7 separate regions of the Homo sapiens genome follow, and regions 1, 2, 3, 5, 6 and 7 are each linked to region 4. Evidence: promoter capture Hi-C in human tissues and cell types (Jung and others, 2019). All regions are on one chromosome and are shown on one strand. Each heading gives the region's core, a stretch centred on a gene start or on the middle of the fragment in contact. The rest is flanking DNA. Distances are from core to core; before and after follow the strand shown. Region 1 overlaps L3MBTL4 (L3MBTL histone methyl-lysine binding protein 4). Region 2 overlaps L3MBTL4 (L3MBTL histone methyl-lysine binding protein 4). Region 3 overlaps L3MBTL4 (L3MBTL histone methyl-lysine binding protein 4). Region 4 holds the start of TMEM200C (transmembrane protein 200C). Region 5 overlaps L3MBTL4 (L3MBTL histone methyl-lysine binding protein 4). Region 6 has its middle 51 kb from the start of EPB41L3. Region 7 overlaps L3MBTL4 (L3MBTL histone methyl-lysine binding protein 4).

Evidence for each region. The method cuts DNA at HindIII sites, captures the fragments that hold promoters and counts their contacts. A contact is called where the count stands out against the background at its distance.
Region 1: a contact is called between a fragment that was not itself captured here and the fragment with the promoter of TMEM200C in region 4, in 1 of the 25 tissues and cell types used here (mesendoderm cells).
Region 2: a contact is called between a fragment that was not itself captured here and the fragment with the promoter of TMEM200C in region 4, in 7 of the 25 tissues and cell types used here (IMR-90 fibroblasts, aorta, dorsolateral prefrontal cortex and 4 more).
Region 3: a contact is called between a fragment that was not itself captured here and the fragment with the promoter of TMEM200C in region 4, in 1 of the 25 tissues and cell types used here (IMR-90 fibroblasts).
Region 5: a contact is called between a fragment that was not itself captured here and the fragment with the promoter of TMEM200C in region 4, in 2 of the 25 tissues and cell types used here (dorsolateral prefrontal cortex and lymphoblastoid cells).
Region 6: a contact is called between a fragment that was not itself captured here and the fragment with the promoter of TMEM200C in region 4, in 2 of the 25 tissues and cell types used here (mesendoderm cells and spleen).
Region 7: a fragment that was not itself captured here is called in contact with the fragment with the promoter of TMEM200C in region 4 in 1 of the 25 tissues and cell types used here (dorsolateral prefrontal cortex).

Annotation. Positions count from the first base shown.
Region 1 is chr18:6,263,621-6,266,857 of GRCh38, reverse strand. L3MBTL4 (L3MBTL histone methyl-lysine binding protein 4) reads left to right here. Exons shown (of 19, transcript NM_001330559.2): 5 at 2,820-2,911. Among named protein-coding and RNA genes, the nearest start is that of L3MBTL4-AS1, 8.5 kb to the right of the region's middle. The HindIII fragment of the contact is 3,896 bases long and covers 19-3,237 here.
Region 2 is chr18:6,206,215-6,209,088 of GRCh38, reverse strand. The region is part of intron 12 of L3MBTL4 (L3MBTL histone methyl-lysine binding protein 4); the gene reads left to right. Among named protein-coding and RNA genes, the nearest start is that of L3MBTL4-AS1, 49 kb to the left of the region's middle. The HindIII fragment of the contact is 5,486 bases long and covers 1-2,874 here.
Region 3 is chr18:6,287,939-6,291,184 of GRCh38, reverse strand. All of the region lies in intron 4 of L3MBTL4 (L3MBTL histone methyl-lysine binding protein 4), which reads left to right. Among named protein-coding and RNA genes, the nearest start is that of L3MBTL4-AS1, 33 kb to the right of the region's middle. The HindIII fragment of the contact is 5,819 bases long and covers 1-3,246 here.
Region 4 is chr18:5,894,165-5,897,315 of GRCh38, reverse strand. It overlaps TMEM200C (transmembrane protein 200C), which reads left to right and starts at 1,794. Exons shown (of 2, transcript NM_001395400.1): 1 at 1,794-2,286. All of the region lies in intron 9 of MIR3976HG (MIR3976 host gene), which reads right to left. LOC121725015 (a long non-coding RNA gene) reads right to left here and starts at 1,589. Exons shown (of 3, transcript NR_172505.1): 1 at 1,230-1,589. The HindIII fragment of the contact is 12,914 bases long and covers 1-3,151 here.
Region 5 is chr18:6,240,297-6,243,209 of GRCh38, reverse strand. L3MBTL4 (L3MBTL histone methyl-lysine binding protein 4) reads left to right here. Exons shown (of 19, transcript NM_001330559.2): 8 at 1,761-1,852. Among named protein-coding and RNA genes, the nearest start is that of L3MBTL4-AS1, 15 kb to the left of the region's middle. The HindIII fragment of the contact is 6,749 bases long and covers 1-2,913 here.
Region 6 is chr18:5,592,969-5,596,051 of GRCh38, reverse strand. It overlaps a transcript of EPB41L3 not described here. Among named protein-coding and RNA genes, the nearest start is that of EPB41L3, 51 kb to the right of the region's middle. The HindIII fragment of the contact is 8,110 bases long and covers 1-3,083 here.
Region 7 is chr18:6,390,017-6,393,054 of GRCh38, reverse strand. All of the region lies in intron 1 of L3MBTL4 (L3MBTL histone methyl-lysine binding protein 4), which reads left to right. Among named protein-coding and RNA genes, the nearest start is that of MIR4317, 17 kb to the right of the region's middle. The HindIII fragment of the contact is 4,562 bases long and covers 1-3,038 here.

The sequences.
Region 1 (3,237 bases), core at 717-3,216, 370 kb before region 4:
TCTGCCTCCCAGGTTCAAGCAATTCTCCTGCCTCAGCCTCCCAAGTAGCTGGGATTATAGGCATGCACCATTATACCTGGCTAATTTTGTATTTTTAGGAGAGATGGGGTTTCACCATGTTGACCAGGCTGGTCTCGAACTCCTGATCTCCGGTGATTCACCTGCCTCAGCTTCCCAAGTGCTGGGATTACAGGTGTAAGCCACTGCACCTGGCCAGAAATTTTTTAACGACAAAAAGTTTACGTGAATTATTCCTGCCCAATTGATGGATTTTGTGTTTGTTATTCAGTCACATTGTTGTATTGTCTCGAGAGGTTTCAAATGTTCTAGTGAGAGGTGCATCTTACCTCCTGTCATCTCTGGTGCTGATGCAGCACTGACCTTTTACCATCTGCATCTTCTTCTGGAACATTCACAGCAAAGATAGATGCTAAAATTAGGACTCAGCGTTTTCTGATGAGTATTCTCCAAGGATGTGTGTGTGTATAGCTAAGTAGTAATACTTGCAGATAATTTTTAAAATATAGATTGTGTTAAATAAAGAAAGAATATTTATGTCAATCTTGCCATCCACATGTAGCCACTGTTAGTATTCTGCTGTTTCTTTCCAATTGCTTTTCTACGTGAATGTGTTTGGTTGTGTGGACATACATATGCCTGTTGCTTAGCACATAGAAGTTGCTGTATAAATATGTGAATAAATGAATGTCTTAATATATGGAATAACTTGTATAATATATATGTATGTATGTTTTTTTATTTTTAAATGAGAAATAATTGTATATATTTATGGGGTAAAATGTAATTTTTGAAATATGCTTGTGGAATGATTATATCAAGTGAATTAACATATCCGTCACCTCACATACTTATGTTTTTTGTCATGAGAATATTTAAAATCTATTCTTTTTAGCAGTTTTGAGGTATATAACATTATTCACTATAGTCAGCATGCTGTGGAACATATCTCTAAAGCTTATGCCTGCTGTCTAACTGGAACGTTGTATCCTTTGGGCAACATCTCCCCATTCCCGATTCCTTTGTCATCCAGCCTCTGGTAACCACCTTTCTAAGCACTGCTTCAATGAGTTTGACTTTTTTTTATTGCATGTCTATAAGATCATGCAGTATTTATTTTTCTGTGCCTAACTTATTTCACTGTGCCTAACTTATTTCACTTAGCATAAGTAAGGACACAAAACAGCAGATATGATCTAAATAGACACCGTTTTGTGTCTTTACTTAGTTTTTTTACTTAACCCAGATAATTCTCAAAATATATTAAATACATAAAGCATAAAAATATAGTTTTCGATAACCTCAGAATCATATATGTATGTATATACAATAGTTTCTTTAACCTCCTTCCCATATTAATACTACTTTGCATTTTGCTGTTATTTTGTGATGTACATTTTTACCATCAACTTTTATCAGTGCTTAACTACTCTCTTAGTATGTAATCCTAGAGAAGAAGTACTGGGGAGTAGAATGTAAACCTGAGATAACTATTAATCCTTTTTGCCAGCTTTTGTTATTCAAAAATGATAATTTTGTTGAATTACAAAGATTAGCTATTCATCTAGAAAATTTGGAAAGCAGAAAAAGAAAGCACAAAGAAAATTGGGAAGGAATTATTTATAATTCTGGCACTTAAGATGATTTCATTTGAATGTTTTTGATTTATGTAAGTTTAGTCTTATTTAATCTATTACACATTTACCAAAAATGATCATTTAATCTATTACACATTTACCAAAAATGATCAATTTGTTTCCTTAACTGCTTCTTTTTCCTACTTAGTAGTATATCATTACATAGTCCTTCTCTGCCTTTAGACAGTTGTCTACAAAGCAATTTACTGGCTGGTTTTGAAAGGGCATGTCCATGTAACGCGTTTAATTACCTCCTCCTTTGTGGACCTTTACTTTGTTTCCAGTGTTTAATTTGATGTGGGATTCTAGGAAAAAAACTCTTGTGTTTTGCCCCTTGGGCGTGTCTACTGCGATTGCATTAAGACAAATTCCTAGGAGAATTGCTGGTTCGACTTTTAGGAACGATTTTTTTTTCCCCAAGATGAGATTTCGCTCTTGTGGCCCAGGCTGGAGTGCAGTAGTGCGATCTCGGCTCACTGCAACCTCCACCTCCTGGGTTCAAGCAATTCTCCTGCTTCAGCTTTCCAAGTAGCTGGGATTACAGGCACCCGCCACGATGCCCAGCTAATTTTTGTATTTTTAGTAGAGACGGGGTTTCACCATATTGGCCAGGCGGGTCTCAAACTCTTGACCTCAGGTGATCCACCTGCCTTGGCCTCCCGAAGTGCTGGGATTACAGGCGTGAGTCACCACGCCAGGCCAGGAACGATTTTTAAGCTTTGACAAATACTGCCACATTAGCTTTCCACAGGTTGTGCCAATTGACATTCACAGCAAAAAGAAGTATGAAAGTGGAAGGAGATTATAAAAAACTTTAGACTATTAACTGTAAAATTAGCTAAATCACTTTCCAGAAAGCCTGTGCCTGTTCACCCTCTTAGAGAGGAGCAAGATGGTACCTAACTTGAGAGTTCACTAGGCATTTTCTAGAGGGTGAGACATATTCATTAGCCTGGTCCGAAACAGGAAGAGCTGAATATGGAGTGGTTAGGTGATTTTACTAAATGTTCATATGAATTGAGAGAGAAGACTCTTCTTAGTTGCTGGGTCTTTCAACTACCAATTTAACTAATTAGCCTGCTTCTTGAGTTTATTGTCAAGTAAGTTTTATTATTTTCCTGTCACTAATCATTTTGAGAAAAGTCATTGTGTTTTCTCTTCCAGTCCCTTCAGCGGCTGCACAGGGAGCATGGTCTTGGGAGTGGTACTTGAAAGAACAGAAGGCTGTCGCAGCACCTGTTGAGCTGTTTTCCAAGGTCAGCCACTGAAGGACTTATATTTTTGCAAGGAAGCAACACTTAAGAGGTTTAGTTTAAATGAAATGACTTTCCTAGATAGCCCATCAACTTATTTGAATTATTTGTAGGCTCTGCTGGAAAATGACCCCACAAACCTAATCAGAGCTTTAGTGTTTCAGAGTGGGCTGGAGCCCGGCGCCGCCACCTGCCAGCTCTGTGACCTTGGGCAAGTCATTCAGTTCAGTTTCCTCATCCATGAGGTAGGAAAGGTTCCCTACCTTTCTCCTTGGGTGGTTGGAGGACTAAATCAGTTGTACCCGTAAAGGATATAGGATGCAATGTGC
Region 2 (2,874 bases), core at 358-2,857, 310 kb before region 4:
TTTTCGCAATTGCCCTGTAGCTGTGATAAGCCATTGGAATTGGAGATCATACATGGTCAGTGCTGGGGGATAGGACCATGAGCAGCCTCATCCAAGATCCTCTACTCGCTCACCCTCATAAATCCACTTAAACTAGTCAGGTCAGATTTTCTGATTTTTATACTGAAAATATTCATTTGGTGATATGTGGTTCATTGGCAGTTGAGTGGTGAAGTTTTTCATGCCATGGCAGGGTTTTAAGATGCTAGGTTTATTAATTATGATGGTTGCTCTCTAATAAGCGTTTATGATGTACTCAGTGTATCTTGTTCAATTTATAGCCAGCTATTATGTTTAATAATTATTCTTTTGTTTGGTTGTACAGTGTGTGCTGTTATATCTGAAAGCCCATTACTGTTGCCTTATCAGAAAATGCACATTAAATTACAGTAGATGGGTGGATGCTTTTAGGAAGTTTAGCCATTATTTGTGGGAAAAAGTATTCTACAAATAAAGATAAAGGAAGGACTTAAAACAGAGTAACATTTGATAAATATTTGCCCTGTGGGAAATGCAGCTAAGCTGTGAAATGAATTATAAATGAATTTCAAATAGATGCTTTAATAAGTTCTACTGAATCATTAATAAATTGAGTCTCTTCAACAAGTCTTTTCCTATTTAATGCATTAACTGGACATATTTGTGGCATTTCACAATGAAATTAGAGCATCATGACCAAGAGAAATTGTTATGGCTGTCTAGTTATGTAACTAGAAACTATTTTGGGTTTTATGTCAGACCAATAAGTTCAAAAGCTCTTGTTTGAGAAAAACCTGCAGGAGTATTAATGCAAAACAAAAGTCCAGATATGAGTTAGTGATGTTCACTTTACTAAGGGTTGCCTGTGCTTCCAGAAAGCCACCTGACCTCTATCTAACTGGAATGCATTATTTATTTATTTATTTATTTATTTATTTATTTATTTATTTATTTTTTAGACAGGGTCTTGTTTTGTCGCCTAGGCTAAAGTGCAGTGGCACAATCATGGCCTGCCGCAGCCTTGACCTCCATGGGCTCACACAATTCTCACACCTCAGCCTCCTGAGTAGCTGAGACTACAGTGTGCGCCACCACACCTAGCTAATTTTTGTTAATTTTTTTTTTCTTTGCGGAGATGGGGGTTTGCAGTGTTGCCCAGGCTGGTCTTGAACTCCTGAGCTGAAGTGATCCACCTGCCTCGGCTCCCAAAGTTCTGGGATTATAGGTGTGAGACGTCGCACCTGGCCTGGGATGCATTTTTGAAAAGGGCTTTGAAATACGAGGATAGAGCAAGATACCAACATTAAAAATATATGTCCTTTGAGCTAAGCTTGTAATTAATGGTCATCACAGTGTCACAGTGATTGATGGCTGTCTTCATTTGGGAAGGAGACTGGGACAATTTTCAGAAGTGTTATGACCCATCAATGAAAAGATGATTTTTTGAGTAGGTAAAACTATAAATTAGTGTCAGCCATGAATTCCAGAAAAGTTGAAGCAGAGAGAGTGCTCAACCAGGTGAACGTGCCTCAGTTAATTCCAGGTAAAATGAAGAAGAGCAGTGACAGTACTAGAGCTGGCTCACTCAAACCCCCATGCTGCTGTGTCCTTGCTTCCCATTTTCTTACTCTTATTCTTCACAGCAACCCAATAAAGTAGCATATGTAAGGAAATAGGCGCAGAAAGCTTAAAAGACTTGGCCAAGGTTGCACAGCTTATAAGTGGTAGAGCCAGGTGGGAACCAGTTGGCCTGGTTCTTCAGCCTGAGCTCTTAAACCAGGTGGCAGTGCCTTTTTTGTAAGGAGCCAGAGAGTAAATATTTCAGGCTTTGTGGGCCATGTGGTCTCTGCAGTAACTGCTCGACTCTGCTGTTCATCACAAAAACAGCCAGAGACAATATATAAACAAATAAATGACTCTGAAATTTGCATCACACATACTTTTCACATGTCATGAAACAATCTTCTCTTGACTTTCTCCCCAGCCATTCAGAAATGTAAAAAACATTTTTAGCTCATGGGACTCACAGAAACAGGTGGTAATAAGGGTCTTTTTGGCCTGTGGGCTGTAATCTGCCAACCCCTGTCTTAAGAGATACTGTACTGGTTAGACTATTAGATGAATTTATTAGTTGTTACCTTTAGTATAAATAGTTTTGTATCCTTGTCTTATTTTTTCCAATATCTGATTTTTGGACCAAATCACATCTATATTTACTTTTCAATCTAGTTTTAGATCAATTTTAGCTATTAAGTAAAAAAAGGTAGAAGAAATGCGGGCTACCATGTAATCAACAGCTTCTAGATTTAAAAGAAATACATATTTTTTTCTCCTATCAGTTGATAACCCTCTTTTTATTTGGTTTTCAGTGTGAAAGTAGCCAAGCCCCTGAAAGGATGTATAGTCTCTCACTGTATTTGTATTCTCCAAGAACTGTAGTAGGGACTTACCTTTCACATTTTTATTAAAGTCAGCATACCAATAACGGAAACACGGGCCGAGCAGCACTACGGAAACATGTGGCCTTGGTGATGAATTGGCGCCTACTCTAGAACTCCCTGGATAACTCCCCCACCCTGTACCCATCTTACCAGCCTGACCTGCGAGATCTAGTGAGATCCTGACATGATTATTTGGCTAGAGACATCAGCTCAGTCATGAGCCAGATAGAATAGAAATAGAATGTTTCACAGTTTTCTATGCACAACACTGTGTAGAAACTTCTTAAATAAAAGATGATGATGTAGCACTAGTTGTTCTTAACTCTTCTTTTTTAGGGATATACATTTCTTTGAGTGTCTGAGGGATGCTACAGATAGCTCCAATGCAAAATGCACATATAAGTGTACACCAATA
Region 3 (3,246 bases), core at 639-3,138, 390 kb before region 4:
CAGCATTATTTTGTCAAGTCAGAAAGGTAGAAAAAGGGGCGAGATTCCATGTGGTAGGGAGCCTTGTTCCCGTATCTTGAGAAAAGCTGTCTACAACGTGAAAAATGTCAGTTTCTCATCCTGGTTTGCAATTTGAATGTCTCTAGTTACAGCTTTGGGCAGTTTGGTGAACTTTCTGTGTGGCCTCTACATCAGGCACAAGACTTGTTCCTTAAAATTTATTTAGTTTAAGTTTATATAGGGCTTCAGAATACAGCAGTACCTGTTTTAGTAATTTTATATTAGAAAGTTGGATGGGATGAACCTAGAACTTAGGATCTAGTCTAGACCATAGGTAGATAATAAGAACTTGCAGCTCGCTGGGCATGGTGGCTCACTCCTGTAATCCTAGTAGTTTGGGAGGCCGAGACGGGTGGATCACCTGAGGTCAGGAGTTCGAGACAAGCCTGGCCAACATGATGAAACCCTGTCTCTACTAAAAATACAAAAATTAGCTGGGCATGGTGGTGTATGCCTGTAGTCCCAGCTAATTGGGAGGCTGAGGCAGGAGAATTGGTTGAACCTGGGAGGTTGAGGTTGCAATGAGCTGAGATGGCACCACTGCTCTCCAACCTGGGTGATAGAGCGAGACTCTGTCTCAAAAAATTAAAAAAAAAAAATAAAAGAATTCCAGTCAGTTCACTTGTAAAATTAAAGTCATTCATGTAGCCATAGTGATAATCAAAAAGCTGTGAAAAGCAATACAGAGAATTAAATGGAAAACATCCTTAATTCTTTTAAAGCTTAGTTTTTGTTTTGTTTAGTTTTTAAGTAATCAAAAACCTAATAAAGGCAACACAGGAAATTATATTGATAAACTATACACTCTGTTTCTTAGGCAAGCTACCAAAAAGGTAAAAAAAAAAAAAAACCCTTCTGCAGTCTGATTGTTCCTTTTTATAGGAAGCTCATTTAGGTAACCTGGAAGTAGGCTGGGCACGGCACCTCATGCCTGTAACCCAGGCACTTTGGGAGATCCAGGTGGTAGGATCGTTTGAGCCCAGGAGATCAGCCTGGGCAACCTAGTGAGACCTTGTCTCTACAAGAAATAAACAAAATTAGCCGGGTGTGGTGACACGTGTCTGTGGTCCCAGCCACTCAGGAGGCTGAGGCCAGAGGATTCCTTGAGCTCAAGAGGTTGAAGCTGTGAGTTATGATCACACCATTGCACTCAAGCCTAGGCAACAGAGCAAGTCCCTGTCTCAAACAAACAAAAACAAAAAACAAAGAAACAAAAAGATAACCTGGAAGTGAAATCTGATGAAAGGTTACTTGATCAGATACAGGAAAAATGTGTCCAAGGTTATGTATGTAGCAATTCATGAGGACAGAATCAAGTTATACTGCATGAAAACATTGCTTTTCCAAGCCTTCAAGATAAACATTTCACTGTCAGGCCATAACAGCTGAGTTAGAATTGTACTGACAAGTTACAGGATCTGAAAAAAAAAAGTTGAAGTAGAGAGTTGTCATCCCAGTCCTTCTCAAGGGGAGAACAAGCTGAAGGCAGTGATGTCTGACCTATAAATCACATGCAGGGAGATACAGCAAAGATTAACCTCTGAGACAGGAATCTGAGAAATTTTAAAAGGAAAACTTTACCTAAAGAAATCAAATTACCATTTTAAATGAAGAGGACAACATTTTAAACTTGAAACTAGGGAAACTAAAAGGATCTCATGAAGAAAAGTGTTAGGAATAGGAATTGCGCAGTTTAGAAGATGGCTGTTAAACAGATTTTATAAATAAAAATCAAAACCTGTTGTAATTTTTTAAAGAGCAGATCAATATTTCAAAAAAACCTTGTTGTTTTAAATATAGAGGACTAGACTCTGGTCCTGTATCAGTGCACCCCTCACACTAACATTTAATTTTTAGAAATTTTAGAAAAACAAGCAAATTTTTCCCAATCTCTTTAAACCCAGTCACACATAAAATGTCCTTCCTAAGACCCATTCTTTATAAATCTTTTTAAACTTGTTTAGACCTTTATCATTTTCCCCAATCCTCAGTCTCAGTCCTACAATTTTTCTCTTTTTAAAAAAACTTTGGGACAACCAATCATTTTATCTTAGGACAACAACTTACTATATAAGATTCTTTCTCATACAAATTTTTTTCTTTAAATTTATATTTTGATTATTAGACCTAAGTATATTTGGTCTTTTTATAAAATTTAAGGACGCAAGAAGGGACTTATATTTATTCAGCAATTTGTTTCAGTTTTTATCTTATTTGGATACGACCCAGAAACTTAATGATTTATTATTTAACAATAATATAAATTTAATATTTTAAATTATATGAAAATTTCATTTGTAAACTTTATTCCATTTACCATTACCTAACATTTATTTTTAAAATTACTATACCTGGATTACTTATGAAAAGTGAGATATTAGAGCTAGTTATTATTTCAAGTTTTTTTTTATTAACCAATTTTACATCCTGTTAATACCAGGTATTTACCTAAGTAAACCTTAAAGTTAAATACATGGGTATCTTAATGATAACTCAGAAGACAACTGTTTTTATTAAATCAATAACATTAAATTGATCTTATTTATCAACGAATTGCATAAACAAGATCATTTTGTTTTAGGCTGGGTTCATAGGTTCATGACCTTAAAACATTTAGCAGATGTTTACTGTCTGACCAGTAAGCTCAGGCAAAAATATATGTTGACAATTTTGAAGATATTTCTAATTTACCAAAAGTTTAAAAACCAATTAATTTATCAAAGATTTACTTAAGTCATGTGAACTAAAAATAAACATTTGGGTTAGTTAGCATATATTTTATATGAGCACTCATTTATTTAAATCAATTGGAATAAAATTTCTTAAGGGATTTCTTGATGACTATGCCAGATTTTATTATGTTGACACAACATACAACATAATACATTTACATATGTATAAACACATTCTAAACACATATACATACACAGAGAGATTGTATAGCTTTTACTTTAGAATTTCAGTTATGAGATTATAAAACATGTACACTCACCAGTTTATAATATAAAGACAGTTGGATCCAGATTATTTTTCTGACAAAATGGGATAGGGTCAAACTTTAAGATTTCTCTTTTATTTTGTTGAGACAGAGTCTCGTTTTGTCACCCAGGCTGGAGTGCAGCGATGTGACTACAGCTCACTGTAGCCTTGACCTTCTGGGCTCAAGTGATCCTCCTCCCTCAGCCT
Region 4 (3,151 bases), core at 545-3,044:
CATAGACTCTGGCAGCTAGCTGTGCAATGAAATGAGACTGTAGGCCCAATCTTTGTAAAAAATACCAGATTATTATTGGGATTCAGGAGATCTGGAAGTTCAGAGCCAAAAAGGCTTTAGAAAACGACAACTAGATCTTATTATTTTTCCTTTGCAGTGATTTCTCTAAAAGGAAACAACCCAATGTGGGATTTAAAACTTTCCCTTCATTATGGTTTGTTTTCTAATAGCCTGAATCTGAGCATGAATAGGTAGGGGGAAGGCGGTGGGTTCCGGACACCCTGATCATCATTCAGATTCGTTATTTGCTTGAAAAGGGTGACAGAGGCCACCTTTCCAACAGGTGAATGCAGGGTTGCCTTTTAGAAAACACTTCTGCTTCGTTCCCTCCTGTCCCCCACCGTCTCTATCCCCATCTCTTAGATCACTGTTCACATTTATATCATTGAACTTGTAAATTGGTTGTCTTTATTGTTCTTTTTGAAAAGTGTCTGCTCTAGATTTAAGCACAAGTGAATGCTGTGTATGTGGGGAACAATCTTGTAACAGGAGCTGCGGGCAGCAGAGCCCTCCTGTGTGGGTTTTGTGGACCCCTAAGCAGCAAAACTCAGAATATATAACACCCACCACCACCAAAATATTTATCTGGATCCAAAATTTCAGACAGCACTTGCTTCATCTGCTCTTCTGTTCCTTTCTTCCTGAATCCTGGCTGCCTCATTTCAATAGATAAATGAAATCTTTCTCACTTTCTCAATACTCTTTGGGGAAATTCCACTTTGAAATTCTCTTTTCCCTGTCATTTTTACTTTACAGTTGAGAAGACAGGGATGAACTAGGAAACAGGATCTCGATCTCTTTCTCTCTCTCTCTCGCCTTCTCTCTTTTTTAAATGACGTAGGGAGTTTGGACATCCTCCCTACCCCCACCTCCCCTCTCTGATTCCAACCCTGATTCCTGATTCCTGGAGAATTATAGTTTTCCTTTTAATGCTTGCTGATTACCGCACCGGGGAGGAGCAGGAGGGGCTGCCCAAGGAAGAGCCCCGGAGCCCATTCTGATCTCCGAGGAGCCCCAGCTGCCGGGTCCCGGTCAGGCTGGTCACAAAGCCCGGCGGGGCTGGAGCGCGAGCGCATCTGGCAGAGGCTTCCAAGCGTCCCGCGGTGCGCCCGTCCCGGCGGGGGCGGCTCCACTCCGCCCGGGCCCGAGTTCGCTGGGGGACAACTTACTGTGCTTGCCGAGCGTCCACACTGCAAACTCCCAAGCGGGAGGGGGAAGAGAGCCCAGGCTGCGCCGTGCCGAGGAGTAGAGGCAACAAAAGACCGAGGCACGAGGGGAGGGAGGCAGGCACGGAGGGACCGCGGACTCTGGCCCCTAGCTCCCCGAGAGCGCCCCTCGGATGCTGCTGGGGAGACCCTCCGGGCCTCTCTTTGGGGCCTCTGGGGCCCGCGGCTCAGACAGGTAGTTGGAGGAAAGAAGAACAAAGCTGCCCGCGGAGGCAGGCGGCGGTCTCGGGGCGCCCCGGGGCGGGGAGAGCCGAGGCCGAGGAGGCACCCCGCGCCCCCTGCCCCGCGGCCCGAGCGCCCCGTGCCGGCTGCCTCCGCCGCCTCCCCTCACGCCTCCTCCTCCCCGAGGAATCGGCGCTTCCGAAGGGACGGGCGGCGGGCGGCGGAGGACGCGGGGGAGCGGGGAAGGCCGGCGGCGTGGGGGGGGGCGCCGGAGGAGGGGGTGGGGCGGGGGGCGGGGGCGGGGGCGCCCCCCGACTCCGCCGAGCCGGGCGGGCCCCGACCGCCACCCTGCCGCAATTTCCCTGTGTCATGGCTCCGGTCTCTTAGCAACAGCCGCCAGTCCGGCCGCCCCGAGCCGCCGCCGCGGGCTCAACTCCACCCGGCGGAGCCCGGCGCGCCGCAGCCACACAAAAGAGGCGCGAGGGCCGGCGGCGCGGCCGCAGGGGCCCGCCCGGGAGCGCCGCGCTAGGGGACGCCGGGAGCTGGAGGATGAGCGGCGGAGAGGAGGGCTCCGAGGCGGGATGCGGGATGCGGGATGCGGAGGACCTGACACTTCTTGGAAACTCTTGGAAATGGCTCCCGCCACAGCGCCGGCGGGGACTGCGAGCCTGGGGCGGGCGCTCGCCCCCGCGGGGCTGCTGAGTCGCGCTCGGATGCGGGGCCCCGGGGCGCTGTCCCTGCGCTCCGCCGTCGGCTCGGGCTGAAAAAGTTTCTCCATGGTTCCTTTGTGTCGCCCGAGCGCCCGTTCGCCGGCCCCGACCTCCCTCGGTCTCCCTGGGTAAGTGAGCGATCTTGCGTGCGGAGAGTGCTGCCATTTTGAGCAATTCTGCCAGTCCCCAGCCCTTGGGGGCCCCTCCCCGCCCCTCGGGTCCCCGAGTCCCCGCGCCCCGGGCTGGTGTTCGGTGAGAGGCTTTTTCCCGGGCTGGCTACACGGGATGCGCTGCCCAGAAAAAGCTAGTTCAGGATTGCCCTCACTTGGCTCCTGCCTGTCTTCTTTCCAGAGGCGGACTCCCAGCTGCTGCACTCATGTGACTCCAGCTAACATCAATAAGCAGACCAAAGCCAGGGGCCAGGGGGTCGCCGCCCTGCCAGTGAGGGGCCGGGGTCGAGGACCTGGGTTGGGTACCGGGCACAGCACAGCGCTCCCAGCCTGTGGGATCCGAGCCTCCGAGCCTCAGAGTGGGGCTTAATCCATCTTGAGCGGAGAACTTGAATGTCTCTCTTGGAAGCAGTTGTATTTTTAGACATCCCTCCTTTGCTTCCCCCATCCTCCATTCTTTAACCACGGTAAGACCAGCTCCAGGCAGTAAATTGCGAGGGCAGCCAAGCTTGACTGCTAAGTTTGTTTTCTTTCATTAGGTATAAAGGAAAACCTCAAAGGTGGGTCTCCCGTGGCATCTGACCTTTGTCTGTATTTCGTGTCAGATGATGATACATTAAAAGGGAGTACAGCCTTCAACAGAGCTGAAGGAATAATAAACGAGGGAGTTAATTACTAGCTATTAAACTCATTTTAAAGATGTGCGGTAAAGGACTGTTGAAATCCATTCCAACCTTCCTTACATTCTACCGGAGCCAAAGCTGCCTTGCTGAGGAGAAATCCAAGTGGGTTTCCTCCTCCCCCAAGGCATCCAGCCTCCCGG
Region 5 (2,913 bases), core at 371-2,870, 350 kb before region 4:
AAGAGATCCTGGTGTGGATTGATTTCCAAAATGAAATTGTGTTCCATAAAGAGTAGTAAGACTATAATGGTACCATTTTTAGAAGTAAATGTCTTTAAAGAAAAGCATAAATGACTATTTAGGTCAAATATTCTGATAATGTACAGAAGGCAGAAATAAAATATTATGAAAGCATTTTATTTTATTTTATATAAAGTTTATTAAACCTTATAAGCAGTGCAGACTAATATTTAAATCATGGTTGAAACAAAATATCTAATCAATGATACAGCAAGGTGAGGAAACTTGATTCACTGTAAGTAATTTGTTTCAGACTTAGGAATCACGGAAAACAAAGAACTATGAAAAAAATCACTATTTTCTTTCGATGGGAATGAAAAATATCATGGTTTTGTTATGTGCTAGAGGAGTCTGGGCCAGGCAGATGTGACCAAAACCTTTTCGATTTGCTGTGTGCAAGTGAGGTGGGGATGTGGTCAAGGATGATGCTGACGGGCTCATATCTTTGCACAGCAAACTTCTGTACATTGTCTCTGGCTTGGATGTCAGACTGTTCGATGTCTGTGGCAACTTCTGGAGTCAGTATACAGTCCTTTATTCCTAGTTATCCACTCAGGGTGTCCCTTGGGATCCTCCCCTGAGGCTGATGGCAGAGTCCTTGAGGTTGCTGGTTTGGAGGAAGCTGGTGACAGGCTACAGGCTCATTCATTCAGTAGGTATTTATGGAGCCCTTACCACGTGAGGCACTGAGGGCCAGTAGCAAGTAAAGCAATGTCTCTATCTCCACGGGGCTTCATTTCAGAGGAGAAGGATAATGGCGGTGGCTGCAGGGACACTCTTTCAGAAAGCATGGGGGAGAAAGGCCTCTCTGTGGACATAATGTTCCAAAGAGACGTGGGTGAAATGACAGAGGAAGCAGTGTGGTGTCTGGGTAAGCCCTCCAAGGGAAGAACAGGAGCAGGCGCCGGGGCAGGAGTGCGCTTTGCGAGGATGAGTCATCTCAGGGAGACAGCAGAGAAGCGCCCAGGTGGGAAGGTCGGGGACGAAGAGGGTGGTGTTCCCAGGCCTGGAAGGCTGTGCAGGGAGTTTGACTTCTGTTCCAAGGCTGGTGCTCAGAACCATATTTTGAGCCTGTACTGTTTGGCCAGCACTGTGTGAGAGCCACGCCAGGGCATGCGAATGGGAGGATGCAGCAGTTTTTAATGGGAGACTAGTAAAGATGCGGCGCAGAAAGCTGGAGCTGTGGAGTGGGCATTGGATTGAGAAGGCGTTTCTGTGCCTGGCATCCTGGATGGCTGCACCCTCAGGACCTCTGATGGTCTCTGTAAAGTCTCTTCCTCAGGAGTGGGGACAGGTACGGGAACTCTGGTCTCATCCCTTTGCCCATTCAGGAAAGCCTTAATGGGCGATGAGACTCCCATCAGGCCACCAGAGTACTGACTCCGTATCAGAGCATGTGAAATTGTATCGGGAATGATGCGCGTGATGGGGAAGCACTATCAACAGTTTTGCACATAATACATTTTAAAAAGGTGAAACAATTTGGAGATTTTAATTTAAATCTTTTGTGGGTGCTAAGGACGTTGAATTTATGGCAGGACACTAATAATAACCATATGAGGTTGGTGCAAAAGTAATTGCGTTTTTTTTCCATTAAAAGTAATGGCCAAAACCGCACTTACTTTTGCACCAACCTAATATATTTAATATGCATGTGATTACATCTTTTGGGTATTTTGAGTAATCTGTGCTTTTTTTAGGTTATAGAAAAGATAAATTTGTTTGGATGGATTACTTGAAGGCCTGCAAATTGCAAAATGCTCCAAAGAAATTATTCAGAAACAGAAGTCCTGTAAGTATTTTCTTTCCCAGCATAAATCAAATTTCCCCCAAGCTTAAATTTCTTAAAATTCACTATATATTCTGTTTTATTTTAATCCTTTAAGAAGTTATGGAAACTGTTAACTTCCTGTCACTTTTCTCACCTAATTCGTCAGTTTCTTGTGGGCATATCTTGGTTTTCTTCCTTTAAAAGTATAATTAAATACTTCAATTAGATGAGAAAAAGTTGGGAAAACTTAAAAACTTTATGTTTAAAGCCTACTAAAATTGAAAGTGTCTTTTAAAAATGTTTTCCCTTACAGGGAGTTAATCCTTTAATCTTGCTTTTGGTGTTTTGAAACCAGCAGATACTCTAAGTAGGCTTTGAATGTACCCAGCCTAGATATATTTAAGTGTAATGAAAATGAGAGTAACATTTTGTACTAATTGAAGGGGTGTTCTGCGGATCTGGGTAGATCACACTTCTTATGCCATCCGTGTCCCCAGAAATCTAGTGAACCTTCAGTGGAGGAGAATAAATTGCAACTCCAGAAGTCGGCTCTGCCACTGGCAGGCGGTGTCACTGTGCAGGCCACTCACTGAATTTCTCCAGACATCACTTCTGTGATCTTGAAAGCAGTGTTATACAATCGTTAAATATGTTTCCTAGATTTGTATCAAGAAAAGGAGCTATTAAAACGTGAAGTTGCTGTAAAAATAGAATGTGCTGAAGGAGAATAAAAATCAGGGTTTGATGAAAGAGAAGTAGAGAAAAACACCCTCTTTCAGTTCCCGGATACTGTATGTACTCCCTAAATCCCAGGATTGGCTAATTATAGATATATGAAGGGTGGGTTTGTAATTGTTATGTTATTGTAAATCATAGTTCATAGTATTTTTATACTAAGAAAAGCACAGATAGTAAAAAAGCACTCACATTTTAAAATTATAAATTTAAATTATATGTTAAATATATATAAATTATATATAAATACACATTTTAAATTATAATTTTATTTAAGCATGTATTTCTTAAATATTGAAAAAGCCACTTATTTTCAGATTGAGTAATCAAATTAACAGGATACTTTG
Region 6 (3,083 bases), core at 41-2,540, 300 kb after region 4:
CTCTTATACCTCATTGTTTAAACACAAATAAATTTAGAGCAGTGAATTTTAAATTGCTTTTTGGATTACAGTTACCTTAAAGACTTAAAAACGGTTATAAAGATTCCCCAGAGAATGTGGGGATGGAGTGGAAGATGGGAGCCACCTACTGGAATATACATTAAATTAATATACAATTTTTGGAGGATTACAGATTACCCCCAATAGTATTCCATGATCCCCATGGACCTGCTTAAGAAGCACCGATTTAGAAATTTTTTGGTGGACAGTTAAGGAAAATAAGCACATGTCCAGGAATTCTGAAATGGAGAATCGGTCAGTAAATTTACTACAGTTGCCTTTTTTTAAAAATCAAGTATGTAGTATGTATCAAACACTTACTGATGGGGAAGGCACTGTTTGAGCTGCTGGGGTGGGATGCATCCTACTCTCTGAGCTTTCACACAATTACTGCAGAAGTGGGCACATCAGATAACAAATAAGCAACAGATTCCTTCTGCCAGGAAATGTTCCCAAAAGACATGGCACGTGAGATGGCCCCTAGGGTAGACCTCAAGGTGGAGAGGAGGTACAGGAGCTCCTGCTTGCTGAGAGGATGGCATAAGAAGGGGCTGGAAAATGGAAGGCTGTCCAGGAGACAGTGTATTCCTGGCTTCTGGGGAGGGCGTGCACAGCCCAGACTGATGGAGGAGCAGTCAGTGTGGAATCTGTGGCTCCTGCTAAGCTTTCTTCCAGGGCTACATATAAATCTCTTGAAGGAGATGAAGTGGAATCTTTCCTTCTGCACTTATTTTAACATGGACAGTTGTCAATTCTCTGCTTTAGCTCCAAGGATTCTCTTGGAAACAAAGCATTTCTTTCAATGGAGGGTATTGGATCTTAAACAATTAGGCTGGTTCTCTTTACAGAGCAAGTTATAACCATTTGCCCAGAAGTCAATGCCCAGAATTTTGAGCTATATTTTTACTTCAACATTAGAGAAGCCAAAAGCTGGGTCATTTTTAGAGATCTAACAATGAATACATTGCATATTCTCTATGTGCCTAGTGTGGATTGATTAATTCTGTATACTTAGTAGTTTCTCATAAGGCATTGCCTTATAGTCTTTTAACAAGATTTTTATTAATTCTTGCGGGAAAGATAATTTTCTCCTTATTTTCCGTATGTTTCCTATTACAATTTCAATAGTTTTGTCTTGATAATCTTATGTAATCCAACATCATGTCCTGGTTGTTTAATTCCAGAAGAAATAGGGCTGTGTGAAAGTGGTTTTCCAACTTGATCAAATCTTCATCCTTAGTATTCACTGCTAGACTAGATTAAGGCTTCAGTACTGCCAAATGCTGCTTAAATTCACAGTGAGGGGAGCAAACAATTTAGAAAGCTGGTTTTTTAGTCTGCCTTCTAAAAGGTTGGGTGAAGGGAAAATGATGATATTGCCTAGTCTGAAGCTGGAAGATACACAATCTTAGGAATTTAGGGTGACATAATTAAAAGTTAAATTACCCTTCTTGAAATTACCAATTAAATCAATTTTTATGAAAACTACATGTTATTTTTTTCCGTATATTTTATTACAATGCAAGGCCTTCAGAGAAAAAGTATTTTCTTATGTACCTCTTAAAATGAGGTCACACAGGATAAAATATTCAATAACTTTACTTTGTGTGCATTAAATGTAATTGAGAGGTTTACCAGATTGGTAATGTACCAATGGTGGGTAACAGATATTTAAAATTTTGCGGGGGTGTTGCGGGAAGTCAGGGACCCCGAATGGAGGGACCGGCTGAAGCCATGGCAGAAGAACATGGATTGTGAAGATTTCATGGACATTTATTAGTTCCCCAAATTAATACTTTTATAATTTCTTATGCCTGTCTTTACTGCAGTCTGTAAACATAAATTGTGAAGATTTCATGGACACTTATCACTTCCCCAGTCAATACCCTTGTGATTTCCTATGCCTGTCTTTACTTTAATCTCTTAATCCTGTCAGCTGAGGAGGATGTATGTTGCCTCAGGACCCTGTGATAATTGCGTTAACTGCACAAATTGTAGAGCATGTGTGTTTGAACAATATGAAATCTGGGCACCTTGAAAAAAGAACAGGATAACAGCAATATTCAGGGAACAAGAGAGATCACCTTAAACTCTGACCGCCGGTGAGCCGGGCGGAACAGAGCCATATTTCTCTTCTTTCAAAAGCAAATGGGAGAAATATCGCTGAATTGTTTTTCTCAGCAAAGAACATCCCTGAGAAAGAGAATGCGCCCCTGAAGGTGGGCCTCTAAAATGGCCCCCTTGGGTGTGGCCATTTTCTATGGTTGAGACCTTAGGGATGAAATAAGGCCCAGTCTCCCATAGTGCTCCCAGGCTTATTAGGACGAGGAAATTCCCGCCTAATAAATTTTGGTCAGACCGGTTGCTCTCAAACCCTGTCTCCTGATAAGATGTTTTCAATGACAATGGTGCCTGAAACTTCATTAGCAATTTTAATTTCGCCCTGGTCCCATGGTCCTGTGATCTCGCCCTGCCTCCATTTGCCTTGTGATATCCTATCACCTTGTGAAGCACGTGATCTCTGTGACCCACACCCTATTCGTACACTCCCTCCCCTTCTGAAAATCTGTAATAAAAACTTGCTGGTTTTACGGCTCAGGGGGCATCTTGGAACCTACCAAAATGTGATGTCTCCCTCGGACGCCCAGCTTTAAAATTTCTCTTTTGTACTCTCTCCCTTTATTTCTCAAACCGGCTGTTGCTTAGGGAAAATGGAACATACATGAAATATCAGGGGTGAATTTTGCCCGATATCTGGCTGAATTTCCCCCGATACAGGGACAGGGGGGTGGGGGTGAGGTGGGTGGGAATTATGCATCGGAACCGTGTCTACGCAATGCTAAAAAAGAACAGTAAAAGGTCTATGGTTTTGTCAGTGGTTCTGATCATTACAATCAACTGGGCCCCATTGATTAAGCTAGTATCTCTGCAGATTGGGCCCTGGCACTGGTTTTTAAAGCCTTCTGAATGACTCTCAAGCATAGCACTGCCCTACATGATACCTGCATAGCTGTCATGTTCGG
Region 7 (3,038 bases), core at 92-2,591, 500 kb before region 4:
AGTGGTTTTTGGTTACATGGTTGAATTGTATAGTGGTGAATTCTGAGGTTTAATGTACCCATAAGCCAAATAGTATACATTGTATCTGATATGTAGTTTTTTTTGTCTCTCATTTCCTTCCTACTCTCCCCACTTCTGAGTCTCCAAAGTTCTTGATACCACTCTATATGTCTTTGTGTCCTCATAGCTGAGCTCACACTTATAAATGAGAAGATATGGAATTTGGTTTCCCATTCCTGAGTTACTTCACCTAGTTTAATTAGGTTCCATTTATTTAGTTTTGTTCTTGTTGCATTTGCTTCTGAAGTCTTAGTAATAAATTCTTTGCCTAGGCTGATGTTTGGAAGAGTTTTTCCAAGGTTATCTTCTAGAATTTTTTGGTTTCAGGTCTTAAGTCTTTGATACATCTTGAGTTGATTTTTGTATAGGGTGAGAATTAGGGATCCAGTTTCATTCTTCTACATGTGGCTATTCAGTTTTCCCAGCACTATTTATTTATTTATTGAGACAGAGTCTCTCGTTCTGTTGCCCAGGCTGGAGTGCAGTGGCACGATCTTGGCTCACTGCAACCTCTGCCACCCAGGTTCAAATGATTCTGCTGCCTCAGCCTCCTGAGTAGCTGGGATTATAGGCGTGTGCCACCATGCCCAGCTAATTTTTGTATTTTTAGTAGAGATGGAGCTTTGCCATGTTGGCCAGGCTGGTCTTGAACTCCCGATCTCAAGTGATCCACCCACCTTGGCCTCCTAAAGTGCTGGGATTGCGGATGTAAGCCACTGCGCCTGGCTCCAGCACCATTTATTAATAGGGTGTCCTTTCTCCAATTTATGTTGCTGTATGCTTTTGTTGTAAGTATTTGGCTTTATTTCTGGGCTCTCTATTATGTTCCATTGGTTTGTGTGCCTACTTTTATACCAGTACCATGCTGTTTTGGTAACTGTAGACTTATAGTATAATTTGAAGTCTGGTAATGTGATGCCTCCAGATTTATTCTTTATGCTTAGGGTTGTTTTGGCTATTTGGGCTCCTTTTTGGTTCCACATGCCATATGAATTTTAGGATTGTTCTAATTCTATTAAAAATGATATTGGTGTTCTGATAGGAATTGCACTGAATTTGTACTTTGGGCAGTATGGTTATTTTCACAATATTGATTCTTCCCATCCATGAGCATGTGATGTGTTTCCATTTGTTGTGTCATCTGTTATTTATTTCAGCAGTGTTTTGCAGTTATCCTTGTAGAGATCTTTCACCTGCTTGGTTAAGTATAGTCCTAGTAGTAGTAGTAGTAGTAGTAGTAGTTGTTGTTGTTGTTTGCAGATGTTGTAAAGGGATTGCGTTCTTGATTTGAGTCTCGGCTTGGTCATTGTTGGTATTTAGTGGTGCTATTAATCTGTGTACGTTGATTTTGTAACCTGAGACTTTACCAAATTTGCTTATCAAATCTAGGAGCCTTTGGAGGAATCTTTAGGGTTTTCTAGGCATATGATCATATCATAGGTGAACAGTGTTAGTTTGACTCCCTCTTTTCCAATCTGGATCCCCTTTATTTCTTTCTCTTGTCTGATTGCTATGACTAGTGTTACTATCACTATGTTGAATAGAAATGGTGAAAGTGGTCATCCTTGTCTTGTTCTGGTCTCATGGGGAATGCTTTCAACTTTTCTCTATTCAGTGTGATATTGCCTGTGGGTTTTCCATATATGGCTTTTATTGTTTTTAAGTAAATCTCTTCTATGCCTAGTTTGTTGAGGGTTTTTATCATAAAGGATGCTGGATTTTATAAAATGCTTTTTCTGTATCTATTGAGATGATCATATGGTTTTTGTTTTTAATTCTGTTTGTGTGATGTGTCACATTTCTTGACTTATGTATGTTAAAATATTCTTGCATCCCTGGGATGAAACCCACTTGATCATGGTGTATTATCTTTTGATGTGCTGTTGGATTCAATTAGCTAGTATTTTGTTGAAGATTTTTGCATCTGTGTTCATCAGGGATATTTGTCTGTAGACTTTTGTTTTTTTTTGTTATGTCCTTTCCTGGTTGTGGTATCAGGGTGGTACTGGTTTCATCAAATGAATTAGGGAGGATTCCCTTTTTCTCAATCTTTTGGAATAGTTTCAGTAGGATTGGGACCAGTTGTTCTTTGAATGTCTGGTAGAATTCAGCTGTGAATACGTCTGGCCCTAGGTTTTGTTGTTGGTGCTGGTGATTTTTAAATTACTGATTCAGTCTCACTGCTTGTTATTGGTCTGTTCATGGTTTCTGTTTCTTCCTGATTTAATCTAGGAAGGTCGTATGTTTCAAGAATTTATCCATTTCCTCTAGATTTTCTAGTTTGTGTGCATAGAGGTGTGCATAGCAGTCTCGAAGGATTTTTTGTATTTCTGTGGTGTTGGTTGTAATGTCTCCACTTTCATTTCTAATTCAGCTTATTTGAATGTTGTCTCTTCTTTTCTTGGTTAATATAGCTAATAATGGTATATCAATTTTGTTTATCTTTTCAAAGAACCAGGTTTTTGTTTCATTGATCTTTTGTATCTTTGTTTTTCAATTTCACTTCATTCTGTTCTGATCCTTGTTATTTCTTTTCTTCTGCTAGCTTTGAGTTTAGTTTGCTCTTGTTCTCTAGTTCCCTGAAGTGTGACAATAAGTTGTTAATTTGTGAACTTTCAGACTTTTTGATTGGCAATTAGCATTGTAAACTTTACCCTTAGCATTGCTTTCACTGTATCCCAGAAGTTTTGATAACTTGTGTCACTATTATTCATTTCAAAGAATTTTTAAATTTCCATCTTGATTTTATTGTTAACTCAGAAATCATTCAGGAGCAGATTGTTTAACTCCATGTAATATATGTGTGTGTGTGTATATGTATATATATATAGATATATAGTCTTGAGGGCTCCTTTTGGAGTTGATTTCTAGTTTTATTCCACTGTGGTCTGAAAAGATACTTGATATGACTTCAGTTTTTAAAAATATATTGAAACTTGTTTTTTGGCCTATCATATGGTCTGTCTTGGAGAATGCTC